Regions from separate parts of the Homo sapiens genome. Here all the other regions are linked to region 5. The links are contacts of gene promoters, found by promoter capture Hi-C in blood cells and fetal thymus (Javierre and others, 2016). All regions are on one chromosome and are shown on one strand. The core of a region is centred on a gene start or on the middle of the fragment in contact, and the rest is flanking DNA. Distances in the headings are between cores, read along the strand shown.

Evidence for each region. The method cuts DNA at HindIII sites, captures the fragments that hold promoters and counts their contacts. A CHiCAGO score of 5 or more calls a contact.
Region 1: a contact is called between the fragment with the promoter of ELL here and the fragment with the promoter of HOMER3 in region 5, in 8 of 17 cell types (erythroblasts, activated CD4 T cells, non-activated CD4 T cells and 5 more). The highest score is 8.2, in erythroblasts.
Region 2: a contact is called between a fragment that was not itself captured here and the fragment with the promoter of HOMER3 in region 5, in 7 of 17 cell types (total B cells, fetal thymus, naive CD8 T cells and 4 more). The highest score is 7.7, in total B cells.
Region 3: a fragment that was not itself captured here is called in contact with the fragment with the promoter of HOMER3 in region 5 in 5 of 17 cell types (naive B cells, total CD8 T cells, naive CD4 T cells and 2 more); the score reaches 6.8 in naive B cells.
Region 4: a fragment that was not itself captured here is called in contact with the fragment with the promoter of HOMER3 in region 5 in 2 of 17 cell types (naive B cells and fetal thymus); the score reaches 5.9 in naive B cells.
Region 6: a fragment that was not itself captured here is called in contact with the fragment with the promoter of HOMER3 in region 5 in 2 of 17 cell types (monocytes and total CD4 T cells); the score reaches 6.9 in monocytes.
Region 7: a fragment that was not itself captured here is called in contact with the fragment with the promoter of HOMER3 in region 5 in 6 of 17 cell types (non-activated CD4 T cells, naive CD8 T cells, total CD4 T cells and 3 more); the score reaches 7.5 in non-activated CD4 T cells.

The regions. Positions count from the first base shown.
Region 1 is chr19:18,520,739-18,523,438 of GRCh38, reverse strand. ELL (elongation factor for RNA polymerase II) reads left to right here and starts at 1,369. Exons shown (of 12, transcript NM_006532.4): 1 at 1,369-1,518. The coding sequence starts at 1,384. RefSeq lists enhancers at 876-1,205, 1,349-1,864, 1,865-2,380 and silencers at 1,596-1,905, 2,636-2,685. The HindIII fragment of the contact is 8,691 bases long and covers 1-2,700 here.
Region 2 is chr19:18,494,394-18,497,093 of GRCh38, reverse strand. All of the region lies in intron 1 of ELL (elongation factor for RNA polymerase II), which reads left to right. Among named protein-coding and RNA genes, the nearest start is that of ELL, 26 kb to the left of the region's middle. RefSeq lists enhancers at 389-438, 1,174-2,073. The HindIII fragment of the contact is 7,208 bases long and covers 1-2,700 here.
Region 3 is chr19:18,457,976-18,460,675 of GRCh38, reverse strand. ELL (elongation factor for RNA polymerase II) reads left to right here. Exons shown (of 12, transcript NM_006532.4): 6 at 2,347-2,471. Among named protein-coding and RNA genes, the nearest start is that of ISYNA1, 21 kb to the right of the region's middle. The HindIII fragment of the contact is 4,339 bases long and covers 1-2,700 here.
Region 4 is chr19:18,478,225-18,480,924 of GRCh38, reverse strand. The region is part of intron 1 of ELL (elongation factor for RNA polymerase II); the gene reads left to right. Among named protein-coding and RNA genes, the nearest start is that of ISYNA1, 41 kb to the right of the region's middle. RefSeq lists enhancers at 1,986-2,055, 1,469-2,371. The HindIII fragment of the contact is 2,666 bases long and covers 1-2,615 here.
Region 5 is chr19:18,939,880-18,942,579 of GRCh38, reverse strand. It overlaps HOMER3 (homer scaffold protein 3), which reads left to right and starts at 1,363. Exons shown (of 10, transcript NM_004838.4): 1 at 1,363-1,529. It overlaps HOMER3-AS1 (HOMER3 antisense RNA 1), which reads right to left and starts at 2,326. Exons shown (of 3, transcript NR_134913.1): 1 at 1,956-2,326. RefSeq lists a silencer at 1,200-1,399. The HindIII fragment of the contact is 10,102 bases long and covers 1-2,700 here.
Region 6 is chr19:18,575,562-18,578,261 of GRCh38, reverse strand. It overlaps UBA52 (ubiquitin A-52 residue ribosomal protein fusion product 1), which reads right to left. Exons shown (of 5, transcript NM_001033930.3): 5 at 712-2,700. Among named protein-coding and RNA genes, the nearest start is that of UBA52, 5.1 kb to the right of the region's middle. The HindIII fragment of the contact is 1,093 bases long and covers 842-1,934 here.
Region 7 is chr19:18,599,789-18,602,488 of GRCh38, reverse strand. CRLF1 (cytokine receptor like factor 1) reads left to right here. Exons shown (of 9, transcript NM_004750.5): 2 at 2,643-2,700. Among named protein-coding and RNA genes, the nearest start is that of CRLF1, 5.7 kb to the left of the region's middle. The HindIII fragment of the contact is 4,529 bases long and covers 1-2,700 here.

The sequences.
Region 1 (2,700 bases), core at 120-2,619, 420 kb after region 5:
ACTCGGGAGGCTGAGGCAGGAGAATTGCTTGAATCCAGGAGGCGGTGGTTGCAGTGAGCCGAGATCACACCACTGCACTCCAGCCTGGGCAAGGAAATCGAAACTCTGTCTAAAAACAAACAAACAAACAAAAACTGGGGGAGGTGGCTCACGCCTGTAATCCTAGCACTTTGGGAGGGCGAGGCGCGCGGATCACCTGAGGTCAGGAGTTCAAGACCAGCCTGGTCAACATGGTGAAACCCCATCTCTACTAAAATACAAAAATTAGCTGGGCATGATGGCGGGCGCCTGTAATCCCAGCTACTCGAGAGGCTGAGACAGGAGAATCGCTTGAATTCAGGAGACGATGGTTGCATTGAGCCGAGATAGCGCCACTGTTCTCCAGTCTGGGCTGATGAGCAAGACTCCGTCTCAAAAAAAAAAAAAAAGAAAAGAAAAGAAAATGGAAGTCTGGGCTTGGTGGCTCACTCCTGTAATCCTAGCATTTCAGCAGACCCAGACAAGGAGGATCAGTTTGAGTTCAGGAGGTCGAGGGTGCAGTGAGCCATGATGGCGCCATTGCACTCCAGCCTGGGCAACACAGCAAGACCCCTCAAAAAAAAATTAAAATAGGAAAATGAAGCTGGACTGCACCATCGCTCAGGGACTGTGGGGATGTAGGATTTTATCCTATTAAAAGTACTCATCTCATAAGAAAAAGTTTACCAGCTCCTCTTCCACCTACCGGTCCAGCACCTTCCCTGGGTGGAAGTCCCATCCACCCCGCCTAAGGGATGCCTTATGTGTCCAACCCAGCGTCCAACGCGCGCGCTCCGTTTACATAGCCACGCCCACCCTCCCGGCCCGCGGCGGGGCCTACCCACCCACGTGTTTCGAGCCGGCTCCGCCCCTCCACGCCCTCTCTGCGGCTTTCCACAGAAGCCAAAGACGGAAGACTGTAGAGATCTCATAAATAATGCATCACGTCAGCGGCTGTAGGGGCGGGGCTTTGACGCGCCTGGCTGGCTGAGTCAGGGTTATGTATAATACTATGGAGGCGGGGCCTGGAGGGGTGCGCGTGTTGAGGCGGAGTTCGTTCACGGAAGTGGCCACCCCTAGGGCCTGAAGAGGCGGGGCCATAAGTGCCTTATGAATATGCAACAACTTGGGGCGTTGACTGTGGGCCTTGTGGGGCCCTCATGGGGCGTGGCCAGGCGCGTCTCCTGAATAATGTAGTGCGCTGCCTGCCGGTGTGGCGGCGACTGTTGGTTTGGTCGGACTCGGGGGGCGTGGCCAGCCGCGTCTCATGAATAATGCAGCGCGTCAGCGGGCGGCGGGGCGGGGCGTGGCCGGCGTGGCGGCGCTGGAGCCGGGAAGGGGGCGCGGGGGAGAGATGGTCGCAAGATGGCGGCGCTGAAGGAGGATAGGAGCTACGGGCTGTCGTGCGGGCGGGTTAGCGACGGCAGCAAGGTGTCGGTGTTCCACGTGAAGCTCACCGACAGTGCCCTGAGGGCCTTCGAGAGCTACCGCGCCAGACAGGTGAGTGGCATGGCGCCCGGCGCGCCAGTGGGGAACGTCCGGACGCGGGCCGGCCTCGCGCTCCCCTCACTGAGGCGTCCGGGCTCGGAGACGCTAGGTCTGTGGTGCTGCTCGCGGGTCCCTGGGCCGGCGGGGCGCGGAGTGGGCGCCAGTCCGGCCTGGAGCGCTGAGAACCGCGTTCCTTCTCAGCACTAGGAGGCAATACAGGCGGGTGGCCCGGGGCTGCTGAGGGGCCCAGACTCGCGCGCCGGGCCCGGGGGGCGTCGGTGTCGGCACCTGGCGGCGTCCGGGGCCTTTCTGGCCTGCTGGGCACCTGGGCAGGGTCCAGTTTGCGCACCTGGCGGCGGGGCGAGGAGGCGGTGGGCCGCACGGTCCCGGCACCGTGATAGGGGGAAGCTGGGGGCTTTTCCATCTGGGGCCGGGGCAGCGCCGTTGGTGGGGGTGACTGTGTCTGTCCTCCTGGGAAGCAGCGATCGTCTGGGTGCCCGGCAGGGGGTGGTCAGCGAGGCACTTGTGGGGGTCTGTTCTGTCTGGGTGGAAGGCTTTGCAGCTGGGGGCTGGCTTTGACGCGTTCCGATGAAGCCACTCAGGTTGGGCCACTTTGGTTCTTGGGACGGGGAGTTTGGGCAGAAACTGACAGCTTGTCCCAGCTTTCTGCTCCCCTTACCCCCAGGTGACCCTCTCTCTCCGGAGAGAGGTTCCTTGGAGAGTGGAAGTGTTGGGGGCGGCTGTGATGTTATCCTCAGGGCACATGTAGGGGATCCCTGCCACCCAGGAGGAAGCTCTGGCTACCACATCTGGCCGCTGACTCTGGAACTTCTCAGAGGCCGATTTGGGCCCATCTGGGGGAAGTTTGAGGCGTTTCGGTTCTGCCACCTGGCTGGTGGTGGGGAGGGGAGGCTGCTGTGTATGTTCTCTTGGGCCTGACTTTGGGGCGCATCTGGGGCCGTGGTCAGAAACCTGCCTTTTTCATTTCTGTTTGTGTCATGGCCCCCCCTCCCCCCGTCTGTGCTGGGTCAGAAGTTGCAGATGACCAGTGGTCAGGTCCCGAGGGGAAGTGGTTTAGGAACCTTGTAACTCCTTTTCTGGAAATTGGGGGCTTCATTGCCCTAAAGGGAGTGGGGGTGGGTCTAGTCTCGGGCTCAGAGAGCCCTGCTCCCTGCGTGTGTGTGTGTTTGTGTA
Region 2 (2,700 bases), core at 1-2,500, 450 kb after region 5:
GTAATTAGTATTTTTCATGTGGACGCACGTTTCCAGTGCCTCTGGGCAAATACCAAGGCGTGCAATTATTGCATTGGATGGTGAGAGTATGTTAGTTTAGTTTTTCAGGAATCTGTTGAGGCCGCACCATTTTGCATGTCCACCGGCAGTGAATGAGGTTCCTGTTGCCCCATGTCCTCACCAGCACTTGGTGCTGTCTGTTCTGAGTTTTGGGCATTCTAATAAGCATGTGGTGGTATCTCATTGTCATTTCAGACTAGACTTTTCCTTCTGGATTTTTTATATTATTGAAGTGATGTTTGCCCATAGTGGAAGACTTGGTATGACGGGCCACAGCCACAGGTTCCTGTGCTACCCGCCTGGCCTTGGCAAGGACCTCCCCCAGTCCGCACCACCTGAGTGGACAGCAGCAGCCTGGAGCTGGCCCCACCTGCTGGCAGGGGACACTGGGGAAGGGCCTGTGCCTGGACTTGTGCCAAACCCCAACCCTACTCCACGCCTCCAACCCATGATCTCTGTAGCTCCTGCCAAACTATATGTTTCTAATAAGGTAAAAAAAAAAAAAAGTTGTTACCTGCACTTGACCTGGTTTTATTTATTCTCGAGCCCAGGAAGACAGGCTCTGTTACCACAGGAAGTAGAGGAAGCACTCTGGGTGCAGTGTGAGGCTGAGTCTGGTCAGGTCTCTGTCTCCTGAGTCATCCCTCAGGGAGATTTTGAGCTCTTTCCTCACCCAGTGTCTCTGCACAGCAGCCCTTGAGCTCTTCCTGCATGCAGGGGAGTTTTCTGGATGAGGCAGTGGCCCGGCCACCTCTTGGGGCTCACGGGTGGCTCTTTTCACAACCACGCCCACACACTCAGGCATGGCCGTCACAGCTCTGGTATCAAGTTCTAATGTTTGGCCCAGTAGTACTGAAAGGTGCTTTTGTGGGGCGCAGCCATGGCCTCACCTGAGCCTCAGTTTCCCCATCCATAAGGAGGGAGTAACCCCATCTGTCCGGGAGGTTGTGGGGACCGAGTGGAGTGTCGGTGGCACTGTGCCTGCATCTCCACGCCCTCTGCAGTCCCCATATAAACCTCCCACATCACCTCCAAACGCCCACTGTGTGGAGCAGGTAGGGTAGGGGCTCACGGAGGCTAGCCCCTTTCAGGCCCATGTGGCGGGAGCCTGCTCCTCAGCCCTCCACCCTAAGCCTCATAGTCCAAGGTAAGATCAGAAGAGGCCTCAGTGGGCCTGCCCTGGCTGGCGCTGTCCATGTCCAAGTCTCCCCTACAGCCCAGGTCTTGGTCAGTATTGGGAAGCTGAGGCGCGTGGGACCTGCCTGCCTCCCCATCCCTCCACTGCAGTGCATACTGCCCCAGAGTGGCCACTCGTACAGGGGGCAGGGGGACTGGCTTCTGCTCACTCAGCCAGGGCTTGTGGCTCCTCCTCTTCTCCTCAGTGGGGCAGCCACTGCCGCCTGTCACTCTGCCTACCAGCCCTGTCTCCGCAGGCTCTCGGCCCTCCTCCTTCAGCTGCAGTGGGAGCTGGGCACCCTCATGCGGGGCGCTGCTTCCAAGAAGCCTTTAGGGTCCTCCTGACGCCTGAAGCAAGGAAGTTGCAAGCTGTGCTACTCAGGGCAGCTGGGTGGGTGTTGTGCCCTCCCTGATGGGGATGCGAGTGAGTGGGTGGGAATGGTGGGGCCCACCAACTCCTGCTTGGGCTTTTTGCTGCTGTTGCCAGTTCCTCTCCACACCCCAGCAGCCCAGGGTGCTGGTGATGTGCACGTGGGGCCAGGCCCTCCCCCAGATGCTCCCGAGCCTTGTCATGCCAGACACTGACCCTCCCCACTCCTCCACAGACCACCCCACAAGGCCTGCAGTCTCCTGGGGTCAGCTCGCCTCCTGCACTTCTGCTCTCGGCTCTCGGCTCAGTGGTCCCTAACCCTTGGCAGTTAGAACAGCCCTGCCAGGGGTCCCTGTGTCACTCTAGTTTTTGTCTACTCCAACATTTGTGCCCAGGGGCTCTGAATGGGCAGGGCCACATCTGTCTCCTTGGCTGATGAGTTCCCAGGGCCTAACATGTTATAGCCCACACCTTGATTGAGTTAGCGCCAGCCATATGCCCTGGACTTCTGCCTTGCTGTCTTTTTCAACTCTCAAATCCTGGGCACATGGTGGTTCTGAGATCACATCTGCCTAGAGGTACAGGGTAGAGTTGTCCAGATGCCACCCGGCTAGGGAAGTGGAGGAAGGTGAGGCTCCAGCTCAGGTACGGGTGGGGCCTCCCAAGCTCTGAAGGCAGAGACAGGAAGATGCCCCACCTGGTCAGAGCCCAGAAGGCTGGACAGTGGGGTCTGTCATCAGCACAGGTGGGGAGGGGGAGGGGAGGGCAGAGAGTGGGAATCAGAAATTAACTTCTGGCCTGGTGCGGTGGCTCATATGCCTGCAATCCCAGCACTTTGGGAGGCCAAGGTGGGCGGATCACTTGAGGTCAGATTATCGAGACCAGCCTGGCCAACACGGCAAAACCCTGTCTCTACTAAAAGTACAAAAATTAGTCAGGTGTGGTGGCAGGCATCCGTAATCCCAGCTACTTGGGAGGCTGTGACAGAATTGCTTGAACCTGGGAGGAGGAGGCTGCAGTGAGCAGAGATCGCGCCACTGCATTCCCATCTGGGTGACAGAGCAAGACTCCGTCTCAAAAAAAAAAACAAAAAA
Region 3 (2,700 bases), core at 197-2,696, 480 kb after region 5:
GACGTTCTTCCATGTTTACGGAGCTCCTCATAGGCGTCCCTCTCGGGTGCGCGGCTGGTGGGACCCTGTTCCACATTCCTTGGGAGGATGTCAGCCTGGCCCTCGTCCACCCCCATCCTGCTCCCAAGGCTAGGGCTGGCATGGTGCCAGCAGGAGTTGCTGAAGGGAGCTCGATGGAGTCATCAGATGTGGGACCTGCATTGGCCTGGCCAGGAGGTGTCTGTGCTGGTGCCTGGCTTCTCCAGGTGACTTTGGTTCAGTGCCTCCTGGGAGCAGGCCTGGCCAGCATCTGCAGGCAGATTGTCCCTTCCTGTGCCACTGTGACTTCCCCTGGACAGCTCGTCTGCTTCTTGCTTCTATATTCATTATGCAGCTGCTTCCCCCCAAGCAGCTGTGGGGGTCAGCAGGACACTGTTGGCTTGTAGAAGAGGAGGGGGATGTGCCTCACCCAGACTGGTCATTTCCAGCCCCTCACAGGCCCTCAGACATGCTGAGGAATGGCAGTGACAAAACTGCATGCCTCAAAGGTGCTTGGCCCTCCCTCTGTGGAAAAATCTAGAGCAGAGATGGAAGGTGTCCACCTCTAGGACTGGCTGAGCCCCAGGGAAACCCGCAAGCCTATCCTTCAAGGGGAGGGGTGTTGACGGCTGAGTAATATTTAGCAAAGCCTGTCATGAGCCATAAAAATATTCAGCCTTTGACCTACTAATCTGGCTTCTGGGAATCCCGTCGAAGGAAACTGTTGCCAACCTGAAAAAAACTGCACACAGTAATGTCTGTTTATGCTACAGAGAAACTGGCAGCAGTTTGGGGGTGGGATATTACTCAACTGTTAAAAATGCTCCCCATGGGCCGGGCGCGGTGGCTCACGCCTGTAATCCCAGCACTTTGGGAGGCCGAGGCAAGTGGATTACGAGGTCAGGAGATCGAGACCATCCTGGCTAACATGGTGAAACCCCATCTCTACTAAAAATACACACACAAAAAAATTAGCCGGGCGTGGTGGCGGGTGCCTGTAGTCCCAGCTACTCCAGAGGCTGAGGCTGGAGAATGGCGTGAACCCGGGAGGCGGAGCTTGCAGTGAGCCAAGATAGCGCCATTGCACTCTAGCCTGGGCAACTGAGCGAGACTCCATCTCAAAAAAAAAAAAAAAATGCTCCCCATGGGATACGCTGTGACGCAGAGCCATGTCAGATGCAGCAGAAAACAGTGACTGCTATGCCTGCAGCAAGATGGAGACCAGAGTGCCCTGTAGGCCAGCACGCAGCACCCACTCAGGGCAGTGACCTGGAGCTTCCTCAGATCCCTCTAAGGCAGACGTTCTGAATCCATCTTTGTTAGCAGTCTGGGAGACGAACTTAGCTTTGGTCAACCGGCAACAGCAAGGCAGGCTGGTTGTAGGGAAGGTGGGCTCAGACGTGGCCCCAGAGGTACCCCTCACCCAGCATCCCCAGCCGTGGCTGACTCTTCCCTGGGAGTTGTGATCAGAAATGGGGTGGAGCCCAGCGCGGTGGCTCACGCCTGTTTCCAGCACTTTGGGAGGCTGAGGTGGGAGGATCCTTGAGGCCAGGAGCTCGAGACCAGCCTATGCAAAATACTGAGATCCTATCTATACAAAAAATTAGCTGGGTATGATAGTGCATGCTTATAGCCCACCTACTTGGGAGACTGAGGCAAGAGGATCGCTTGAGCCCAGGAGTTTGCAGCTACAGTGAACCTTGATCACACCACTGCACTCCAGCCTGGAAGAAATAGGAGCCAGGTGTGGTGGCTGGAATCCCAGCACATTGGGAGGCTGAGATCAGAGGATCGCTTGAGCCCAGGGGTTCAAGACAAGCCTGGACAACATAGCGAGATCCCATCTCTTAAAAAAAATTAGCTGGAGTATAGTGGTGCACACCTGTGGCCCCACCTACCTGGGAGGCTGACGTGGGAGGGTCGCTTGAGCACAGGAGGTCTAGGCTATAGTGAGCTAAGATCTTGTATCAAAAAAGGAAAAAAAGCAGGCTAGAGGGGCCAGGGGGCAGGTGATGGGGTCTCAGTACTGCAGGTGGTAGCCCTCCCCTTTTTGGAGCCAGCCTGGCCCCAGCACCTCTAAGACAGTTGAGTCTGGACCTGCCTTCATGACCCTCATTATCCCTTCTGCACCCTGAGGATTGTGTGCGGGGGAACTGGGGGTGGGAGACATCACGGATCGGTAGTGGGCCATCCTCTTTCCTCTCCTCTGTCTCTGTCTGTCTCCCACTGTCTCTGCACACCCTCCCAAACCCACTATCAGATCTTTTTTCTCTAGTCCCCCGTCTCTCTCAGGATTCCCACAAAGTGATGGCTGGCTCTGTCTTGCAGGTGGCCAACATGAGTGCTAAGGACGGCACGTGTACACTGCAGGACTGCATGTACAAGGATGTGCAGAAGGACTGGCCTGGCTACTCGGAGGGGGACCAGCAGCTGCTGAAGCGGGTGCTCGTCCGGTAATGCCGCCTCCCATCCCCCAGCATGTCCCCACCCGCATGAAGGCAGCCAGAGCTTACCCAGAGGATGCTGGGGTGGTCTTGTGTGGTCCTGAAGGCCACAGGGCTTGGGAGCAGGATGGAAGGGTCCAAGTAGGCCTCTCTGGCCATCCTCCCTACTGCCCACGTGGTGCCCCAGGGTGTCCCGTGGTGGGGGAAGGCCACGCTCACAGAGTGGGACGGAGGTGTG
Region 4 (2,700 bases), core at 33-2,532, 460 kb after region 5:
CGGTGGCTCACACCTGTAATCCTGGCACTTTGGGAGGCTGAGTCTGTCGAGTTGCTTGAACCTAGGAGTTCAAGTCCAGCCTGGGCAACATGGCAAAACCCTATCTCTACAGAAAATAGAAAAATTAGCCAGGTGTGTTGGTGTGTGCCTGTGGTCCCAGCTACTCGGGAGCTGAGGCAGGAGGATCACCTGAGCCTAGAAGGTCGAAGCTGCAGTGAGCCGTGTTCACACCACCGCACTCCAGCCTGGGTGACAGAGTGAGAGCTTATCTCCAAAAAGAAAGAAAGAAAAAAAATACTTGCTATGCCGGCCACTGAATTACACTTGGCTTGTAGCCAGTTGGAGTCCCTTTCCTGCTCTTACAGGCCCACCTGGCCTGCTGAACACACCATCTGTCCTCCCAGGCTGGCAGAGGAGCTGCCGTGGGTCCTGCCCTCTGCTCTGCCCTGACCGTGGCCACCTGGTTCCCTAGGCTGGAACCAGTGAGGTCCACAATGTGTCTGTCCAAGTTCCCTAGCTCGTCCCTGAGCCAACCAAGCTCACTGGGCAGATCTTCCTTTGTTTTGTAGTTCACGGAGACAGCCCCACTCAGTCACTGTCTAAACTCTCCGTGGCCTCAATGTCCTGCTCCAGTCCTGCCAGGAAGTCTCAAGGAGGATTCCTGAATAGCGTTTCCCAATCATTTGTGCTTTACTGGAAAGGGGGGGCCTGTTGTGGGGAGGCCACCGTCCAGGGCTCTTCCCGGGACTTCACCTTCCCTCTGCTGGACCACACGCCGTGGCTTGGCAGGGTGACCCAGCTCTGTAAGATCAGGACGTGTGTGCTGACACTGGTGCTTGGGAGAGTCAGCAAGATGGACTTCTGAAGAAGGAACAGATGCATTCCTTTCTGTCATTTCCTGCATCAGGGGTGGGGTGGCAGGCCTTGCCCAGTAGACAGCAGGGAGAACGTGCTGCCTGGGGAGAGTGGGCACTTCTGCTGAGTGGGTGCTTCTGGAGGGTGGTGGGAAGGATCATGTGTCTTTGGGGCAGCCTTGGCACCTGCTGCCTTGGGCCTCATTGTCCCCAGGCTGGTAGCAGGTATCCTGGGACCTGGCCAGATTGGGCCCCGTCCATCTGTCTGTGTGTCTCATCTCTTCACTGTGCCCTCTCCCTAGTTTCTGTCTTTGCTGGAGAGTTTTTAAAACAATCCTAGATTTTTTTTTTTTTTTTTTTTTGAGATGGAGTCTCACTCTGTCGTGCAGGCTGGAGTGCAGTGGCTTGATCTCAGCTCACTGCAACCTCCGCCTACCGGGTTCAAGCAGTTCTCCTGCCTCAGGCTCCCGAGTAGCTAGGATTATAGGCGTATGCCACCATGCCTGGCTAATTTTTGTATTTTTAGTAGAGATGGAGTTTCACCATGTTGGTCAGGCTGGTCTTGAACTCCTGACCTCAAGCAGTCCACCTGCCTCAGCCTCCCAAAATGCTGGGATTACAGGTGTGAGGTACCATGCCTGGCCAACAATCAGATACGTTCTTCTTCACCCGTAACTTTTCCATTTATATTTTATATTTGTTGAAGGGAGCAGGTCTTTTTTCCCATAGATTTTTCTGCTTTCTGCTCTGATGGTCGCTTCCCGTGGCAGGGTCAGCCCAGGGCTTCTCAGCCCCTGCACTGCTTGACATTTGGGGCAGGAGGTTCTGTGTTGCCTGCAGTGTGCTGAGCAGCATCCCTGGCCTCCCCCGAGCCAGATGGTGGGGACTGTCCCCGCCCTCAGTGGTGAGGACCAGAAATGGCTCCAGACATTGCCTCGTGCCCTGGGGAAGATTCACCCACCACACTTCCTGTAAACTGGTCACTCGGCCTGGAGGTGGATTTCGTAAGCCACTTCCTGTTGCTTCATCCCCGGAAGTGCTCTTTGCCGGAGGGGAGAGGATCAGGGGATTCTGGCCCTGGAGAGGTTCCTCCTCACCCTTTCCTCTGTCTCAGCATTGAGGACTCTCACTGCCTCCCAGGCTCTGCACCCTCGACCCTTTTCCCAAAGGCATTGCTGTCTTTACAGGAGTGTCCTCATTGAGGGGGAGCTGCCTACAGGAGTCTCCCAGTCTGTGTTCAGTAGCCCCAGTGGGCGCCCAGGCCAAGTGACCGCAGGGCGCAGGCATCACTGCCCTGCTGTGTTGAGGTCTGTTCTCCGAGTCAGGGTCTGAAGTCCAGTTGGGTCTGGGGAGCACCAGCCTCGGCACAGCTCAGTGCCTGCCTGTCCGGCCTTGAAGACCCAGCTGACCTGCTGACTGTGTCAGGCCAGCTGTGGCGGCCCTACCAGGCTCCCCAGCTCCCACCTGGGGCCCTGGCCTGAAGTACAGCAGCGGGGGTGACTTTGTATCTCAGGAGCTCCCAGTTCCATACCTCATGCTGGGTAATGAAAGTTGGATTTTTGCCACTCGAGGGCCTGAGAGGACTTGTGGGGGTGATGACCCCTCAGAGGGTCTACAGAGACTGGGCAGGCGGTGGCCTGAGGCATGGCTCTCCCCTGCTGGGTGTTCTTGGGTGTGAGATGGGCAGTACCCTGCAGGTGTCATGTGCTACTGAGTTACCCCGTTATTTAATTAATGCAGCCTGAGGCCAACCCCAAAGCTTCTAAGGCAGCAGGGAAATCACCTGTGCTACAGTCTGTTCCTGACCCTCTGTCCTGCTTCATAGATGAGGTAACGAGGCGCTTGG
Region 5 (2,700 bases), core at 114-2,613:
GGTGGCTCACGTCTGTAATCCCAGGACTTTGGGAAGCCGAGGGGGGCAGATCACTTGAGGTCAGGAGTTCGAGACCAGACTGGCCAACATGGTGAAACCCCATCTCTACTAAAAATACAAAAATCAGCCAGGTGTGGTGGCATGCACCTGTAGTCCCAACTACTCGGGAGGCTGAGGCAGGAGAATTGCTTGAATCTGGGAGGCAGAGGCTGCAGTAAGCCGAGATTGTGCCACTGCACTCCAGCCTGGGCAACAGAGTGAGACTTTGTCTCAAAAAAAAGAAAAGAAAAGAAAAGAAAAACTCAAATGTAAGATCAGAGCTTTAGGGCGCCACAGGCCTTGGTTCCAGGGAGCTGCAGGACCTCTGTCCACAAACGAACCAACGGCGCCGCACCGTGTGATTTTGGAGACGGTGCCAGAGAGGGGGCGGCACCAGGATTGACAAGTGGGACACATGGGCTTGGGGCTGGGGAGGTGGATCCTAGTTCAACTCCGGAAGGATGCTCTCCTGGCAAGTGTGGGAAGGGGGTGCTCCCTGTGACCAGAGGTGACAAACGCAGGCCAGTGGAGGCTGAGGGGATGCAACCATGCGTTGGAGACATTTCCTCAGCCTTTGGATTTTGGAACCCTCAAACAACAGCAAAGATAACCTTAATCCAACCATTGTGGGCATTTTTACCATCGTCTTGGGAGGGACAGAGGTGGACAGACGTCCCTGCTTAGGGATGGGACGGGCAGGGGAACAGAGGCTTCTCTCTCTTTGTCTTGCTTCCCGTTCCCTCCCGAAGTTGATCTCTTCCGTTTCCTGGCAACACCCATTGAGCACTTACTGTATGCAGACCCTGAGACCCACTGCCCCCTCCCCAACCTCACTGGGCCACCCATGTCAGCCCGGGAGGGACCTGACCTCCCTCACAGGCCCAAAGTTATGACCTCAGGTAGTGGGGACAGAGGCAGCTGTCTCCTGAGAAGGTGACAGGAGGGTGAGGTCACATCGCTGTCCGTGCAACTCTCTCCATCTGCTTCCTATCTCTCCGCCTGTCTCCCCCGTGTCTCTGTTTCTGGGTCTCTTTCTCATCCCAGATGTCCCTCTCCGTCTGTCTCTCTGTCCCCACCCTCTGCTCCCAACCCGACCCCACGCAACCCCCCCCCCCACTCCCCCTCCACCGCCCCTAACCCCCTCCCTCAATCCTCCGTCCCTTCCCCAGTCCCGGCCCCCGCCCCTCCCCCTTATCCCCTCCCCCATACCCTCTCCCAGTGCAAAAAGCCGGCAGGGGGCGCAGCGGGGCGGCCTTGGCGGCCCGGGGAGGCGGGGCGGGCGGCGGCCGCGTCGGGACCGGCCGCGATGGGACCGGAGGCGGCGCGGGCGGCGGCGGCGCAGACAAAGGCACGGGCGGCGTGGAGGGCGGCGCGGAGGGCGCGGGCCCGGGAGCCAGGGAGCGAGCGGGGCGCCCGGCAGCGCGGAGTCAGCGCCGCGGGGGCCGCACCCGACTCGCGCCTGGACACTCGCGGGGCGCCGACCTGGCAGGGTGAGCCCGGCCTGCCGAGCCTGCGCTGGGAGCGCGGGGGCCTCGAAGTCCCAGGGCCAAGGGGAGGGCGTGGGGGTTCCCCAGAAGTTTCGGACCCGGGACTGGGAGCGGCGCGAGGGGTCCCCAAGTTCCAGGGCTGGAGGGAGCGCGGGGGTCCCGAAGTTCTGGATTCAGGGTCTGAGAGGGGACTGCGTGGGAGGTTCCCAAAGTTCTGGACCCGGCGTTGGAGGAGGCTGCGAAGAGGTCCCCAAAGCTGCGGACCTGGGGTGGGGTACTGGGGTGGGAGGGGTCCGGACGTCCCGGACCCAGGGACTGGAGGGGTGGCAGGGGGTCCTCGAAGTTTAGGAGTCTAGGACAACGCGGAGGACCGGGGTCCCGGACCCAGTTAGAGGAGGAGTCACGAAGGGAGTCCCCGGAGTTACCGACCTGGGGTTGGAGGAGGCAGAAGAGGTGTCCCCCGAAGTTCTGGACCCAGAGACAGGGGGCGTCGCGGGAATCTCGGAAGTTCCAGGGTCAGAGCCCGCGTCCCGGAGTTGGGGCGTGCACTGGGTGTCCTGCCTCGGGTGGGGATGGGATCCTGAATTAATATTAACCCCCCCGTCCCCCGCACTCGGGTGCATGGGATGGGGCCTCATCCACCGGCCAGATTGGGGATCCCGGGCACCGGGCGGTGTCGGACCCCCCTCCGGGAGCCCCGTGGCCGGCGGCATCCGAGGCGCATGACTAGTTGGTGAGTAACTTTCCCCAAACGCTGCAAGTCGCAGCAGGAGCTGCCGGACCGGAAGGGCCTGGGTTCCGGGGACCCCTGTGTTCCCCAACTCCCACCCGGCGCAGGACCCGCCCCCAGTCCAGGCCAGAGCTGCCGCCCCACCCCCACTCAGGGGCTCCGGTTTCAGACCCTGTGACCAGGACAGCAGCTGCCCAGGACAGGATAGGGGGGGCATCCCCCCTTTGACCACAGAGGCCGCTGGGCCAGGGCCTCCCCTCCCCCACCTGTCTTCCCCCTCCTCCAAACTCCTCCTTGGTCCCCTGCAGATTCGGGGTTGCTGAATGGCCCAATGGGGAGGTTGGGGAGCCCTGGTCTCCCAGTGTGGATTCTGCTCTGCCCTCATGGTGGGCATTGGGATTGGCTGTTTGTCTACATCTTGTCTTTTTAACTTGGCTGGGGGCT
Region 6 (2,700 bases), core at 139-2,638, 360 kb after region 5:
CCTGTAATCCCAGCTACTCAGGAGGCTGAGGCAAGAGAATTGCTTGAATCCGGGAGGTTGAGGTTGCAGTGGGCCAAGATCGTGCCGCTGCACTCCAGCCTGGGCGTCAGAGCGAGACTCCATCTCAAAAAAAATAAAAAAATAAGCCATGGCACATCAGGAACACAGATCTGAGGGTTGCCATCCTAATTGTTTTAGATTCCTAATCCAGAGGGTTTTCATCCTGGGGGTAGAGAGAATCCTGGAGACAAGTTCTCAAGAAAGTCTTCCTTATAGACGTTTGGACCTAGGAGGCATGCCTCTCGAAGGGTGGGTGAAGTGCGTTTGGGTGGCTGTTTAACAAAGGTTTCACAAAGCGCTGTCATCTCGACTGGGCGTTACCAGGAGCTTGGGGCCACTGTTTTCCACCCTTGGCCAGCCCTCGGTTCAACCCAGAAAATGCAGAGAAAGTGGGAACTGGTTTCTAGGCAAAACAACACTCTCGATTCAGAAGGGCTGGGGGTTGTTAGAGAGCCCTTTCTCAGATACCCTTACATCTGTGTCTTTAGTCAGGCGGCGGCACTTGTCGCTTTTAAATGGCCGACAGGTGCCCGGTGTTTGCCCTCAATTCTAAAGAAAAGTAGAGCAGAGTAGCAAGCGAAAGAGGTCCGATGTTACCGCTTTGGAAATCCTGGGTGAGCCCCCACGATGAGTCAGTTTCTCCTGCCGATGGGTTCCTGGTCTCGCTAACTTTGAAGAATGAAGCTGCGGACCTTTGCGGGGAGTGTTAACAGTTCAAAAAGAGTCCACGGACCAGGAGAGTGAGCAGCAGCTGTTTATTGAATGAAGCGAAAGGAAAGCTTCCACATGCTGGAAGGGGACCCAGAAGGGTTGCCATTGCTAGCTTGGGCGGCTAGAGCTCATATCCCTGTTACTCCCTCCCCTTTCTTTCTTTTTGTCCATTAAGAGTGGTTCTTCCTTCAATCCCCCCTTGGAGTGGTTAATTTTGAATCCTTCATTCGATCAGTTAAGAACTCAAAACCCTGAGTCATGGGGGTCTTTTGTGAAAGTCCCCAAACTGGCCCAGGAAGTCCCGCCAACTCCACCCCTCATTAGGATGCATCACTGGCCTCGTGCACCGGCTTCACCAGCACTGCACCCTAATCAAAACAGGGGCCAGCAAGGTGCCTCACCCCTGTAATCCCAGCACTTTGGGAGGCTGCGGCAGAACTGCTTGGACCCAGTGCAAAACCATTCTGGGCAACATAGCGAGACCATGTCTGTAAAAAAAAAAAAAAAAAAAAAAATGTAGCAAGGCCAGGCGCTGTGGCTTACGCTTGTAATCCTAGCACTTTGGAAGGCCAAGACAGGTAGATCACAAGAGGTCAGTAGTTCAAGACCAGCCTGGCCAACATAGCAAAACCCTGTCTCTACTAAAAACAGAAAAACTAGCCAGGCGTGGTGGTGGTGGCGCACACTGGTAATTCCAGCTACTCAAGAGGCTGAGAAAGGAGAATCGCTTGAACCCGAGAGGCAGAAGCTGCAGTGAGCCGAGACTGCGCCACCGCACTCCAGCCTGCACGATGGGAGCAAGGCTCCATCTCAAAAAAAAAAAAAAAAAGTGATAAAAAACCAAAACTAAACAGGAGGCTTTTAAGTTCAGGAGTTTGAAGCCAGCCTGGGCAACATAGCAAGACCCCATCTCTACAAAATATTAACCGAGTGTGGTGGCACAAGCATGCAGTCCCAGCTACTCGGGAGGCTGAGGCAAGATCCTGGGAGATCAAGGCTGCAGCAAGCTATGATCCTACCACTGCACCCCAACCTGGGTGACAGTGAGACTGTCTCAAAATTTTAAATCAGTAAATAAAACAGGAATTGGTCTGTGCTCACCCCATCTAAAAAACTCTTGACCTTATGATTTGCCCACCTCAGCCTACTGATCATTACAAGCTTTAAAAACACCAAAGCAATTATCTGAGTGTGGTGGTGGGTGCACACCTGTAGTCCTGGCTACTTCGGAGGCAAAGGAGAGAGGATCACCCAAGCCTGAGTTCCAGGGTACAGGGAGCCATGACCACACCACTGCATTCCAGCCTGGGTGACCTTAAGGGGAAAACACCAAGGGTTGCCCTTCTTAAGAGTGATTATCATAGGAGAGGGTACAGCTCAGGGGCAGAGCACTGACTGCAGACCATGAGTGATGTCACGGCCTCAGATTCAAAACTGAGTAACTGGGCCAGGCGTGCTGGCTCACGCCTGTAATACCAGCATTCTGGGAGGCCAAGGCGAATGGATCACAAGGTCAGGAGATCGAGACCAACCTGGCTAACCCAGTGAAACCCCGTCTCTACTAAAAATACAAAAAATTAGCCAGGAGTTGTGGCGGGCACCTGTAGTCCCAGCTACTCGGGAGGCTGAGGCAGGAGAAGGATGTGAACCCCGGAGGCAGAGGTTGTAGTAAGCCGAGACTGCGCCACTGCACTCCAGCCTGGGCGACAGAGCAAGACTCCGTCTCAAAACAAACAAACAAACAAACAAACAAAAAACTGAGAACTGGGTCAGGCATGGCAGTTCTTGCTTGTAATCCCAACACTTTGAGGGGCTGAGATGGGCGGATGGCTTGAGCCCAGGAGTTCAAGACCAGCCTGGACAACATAGTGAGACCCCATTTGTATAAAATAAAAAAATTTGAGAATCAACGTTCTACACCATTGGGTG
Region 7 (2,700 bases), core at 201-2,700, 340 kb after region 5:
GGGGCCACCACCCCCTCCCCACCTGGCTAATTTTTGTATTTTTGGTAGAGACAGGGTTTCACCATGTTGCCCAGGCTGTCTCAAACTCTTGACCTCACGTGATCCTCCCACCTCAGCCTCTCAAAGTGCTGGGATTACAGGCATGAGCCACCGCACCCAGCCAACCCCATGACATTGACGCCATGATGTCCACTTTCCAGATGGGGAAACTGAGACTCAGAGAGGCATTGGGAGGTTGGCCTGTGCACCCCCTCCTCCTCTGGGCCTTGGTTTCCCTATGGACAAGGTTCTGGTCTCCAGAAGGGGAACTCCTGGGCTGCCCTGATGGCCAGCAGGAGAGAGAGGCATCAACCACCCATGGGCGTCCCCAAGTTTCCTGTGCCTAGTACCTGACTCACACACAACCTGGTTCAGGAAGTCCTTTCCCCTCTGACTTTCACAATACCCCAGGAGACAAAGAGCTTTCTCGTTCTCACTTTGCAGATGAGGAAAACTGAGTGGAGGGAAACAGCGATGATGTCAAGTCCCTTTGGATGGGAGTTGGGGACGTGCAGTTTGCCAGGGCTGCCTTTAGTTCCAGAGGTAGGCAGTGTGGAACAGAACTTTGGAGACCAGAAAATCTGGGCCTAACTAGTATGGCCTTCCCTCATTCCAGCAAGGAAACTCCATCTTTCAGAGCCGGAGTTTTTTCATCTTTAACATATAAGCAGGATTGGCCGAGAAAATGTAGGTAGTCTTAGCCCAGTATTCAGAACACAACAAGTGCTCAATAAATGGTGCTGTTAGGCCAGGCGCAATGACTCACGCCTGTCATCCCAGCACTTCGGGAGGCTGAGGCGAGTGGATCACTTGATGTCAGGAGTTCGAGACCAGCCTGGCCAACATGGCGATTCTTGGACTCTACTAAAAATACAGGCTGGGCGCGGTGGTTCACCCCTGTAATCCCAGCACTTTGGGAGGCTGAGGCAGGCGGATCACAAGGTCAGGAGTTCGAAACCAGCCTGACCAGCACGGTGAAACCACATCTCTACTAAAAATACAAAAATTAGCCGGGCACGGTGATGTGTGCCTGTAATCCCAGCTACTCGGGAGGCTGACGCAGGAGAATCACTTGAACCTGGGAGGCGGAGATTGCGGTGAGCCGAGATCGTGCCATTGCACTCCAGCCTGGGCAACAAGAGCAAAACTCCGTCTCAAAAAAAAAAAAAACATGGTGCTCTTAATGATTCAAGTAAGGGTCAGGGCTTTCATTTTAAGCAGTGCCCTTCCCCCACAGAAACACCTACTATGTGTGAGGCTCTGGGAGCATCACAGGAAGAACCCACAATCTTTTGTTTCTAGTTGCCAAAAAAGAAAAACAAAATGAGAATGAAAAATAAAGAAGGCTAGGCACCGAAGCTCATGCCTGTGATCCCAGGACTTTGGGAGGCCAAGGTGGGAGGATCGCTTGAGGCCAGGAGTTCAAGACCGGCCTGAGCAAACTAGCGAGACCTCATCTCTAAAAAAATATTTAAAAATCAGCCAGGTGTGGTGGTGCACACCTGTAGTCCCAGCTACTTGGGAGCTGAGATGAGGGAGGATCACTTGAACCCAGGAGATCGAGGCTGCAGTGAGCTATGATCGTGCCACTGCACTCCAGCCTGGCCAACAGAGTGAGACCCTGTCGCTAAAAAAATAAAAAGCAAAGCATGCCTGGGTGTATTGGCTCACTCCTGTAATCCCAGCACTTTGAGAGGCCGAGGGAGGTGGATCACGAGGTCAGGAGTTCAAGACCAGCCTGGCCAATATGGTGAAACCCCGTCTCTACTAAAAATACAAAACTTGGCCAGGCGCAGTGGCTCACGCCTGTAATCCCAGCACTTTGGGAGGCCCATACGGATGGATCATGAGGTCAGGAGATCGAGACCATCCTGGCTAACATGCTGAAACCCCGTCTCTACTAAAAATACAAAAAATTAGCCAGGCGTGGTGGCGGGCGCGTAGTCCTAGCTACTTGGGAGGCTGAGGCAGGAGAATGGCATGATCCCGGGAGGCGGAGCTTGCAGTGAGCCGAGATCGTGCCACTGCACTCCAGCCTGGGCGACAGAGCAAGACTGCGTCTCAAAAAAAAAAAAATACAAAAGTTAGTCAGGCATGGTGGTGCACACCTGAAGTCCCAGCTACTCGGGAGGCTGAGGCAGAAGAATTGCTTGGACCCGGGAGGCGGAGGTTGCAGTGAGCCGAGATCGTGCCACTGCACTCCAGCCTGGGCGACAGAGCGAGACTCCGTCTCAAAAAAAAAAAGCAAAGCATAGTGTTTGTCATAACGATGTGCTAAGCAAGAGTCACTTGGATCCGAATGAGCCTCTATGCCCGAGTTGTGTGACCCCTCAGAGAACCTTAAGCATGTCAGTGATGAAGAGTTTTGGAAGGATCCAGTGTTGGAGTCAGACAGACCTGGACAACTCCAGGTCTGTCAGTTTGGCCACCAGTGTTGCCCTGGGCATTTAACCCAACTGATCTCTACCTTCCCTATCTGTAAAATGGGGGACAATCATTAACAGCGTCTTTTCAGGACCACCATGAACCCTGGAGGTCCTGGCATGGTTGGGGGCTTGGAGGGTCCCCGCCCTGGCCTGACACGTGTTCCTCTTTGACCCCAGACACAGCTGTGATCAGTCCCCAGGATCCCACGCTTCTCATCGGCTCCTCCCTGCTGGC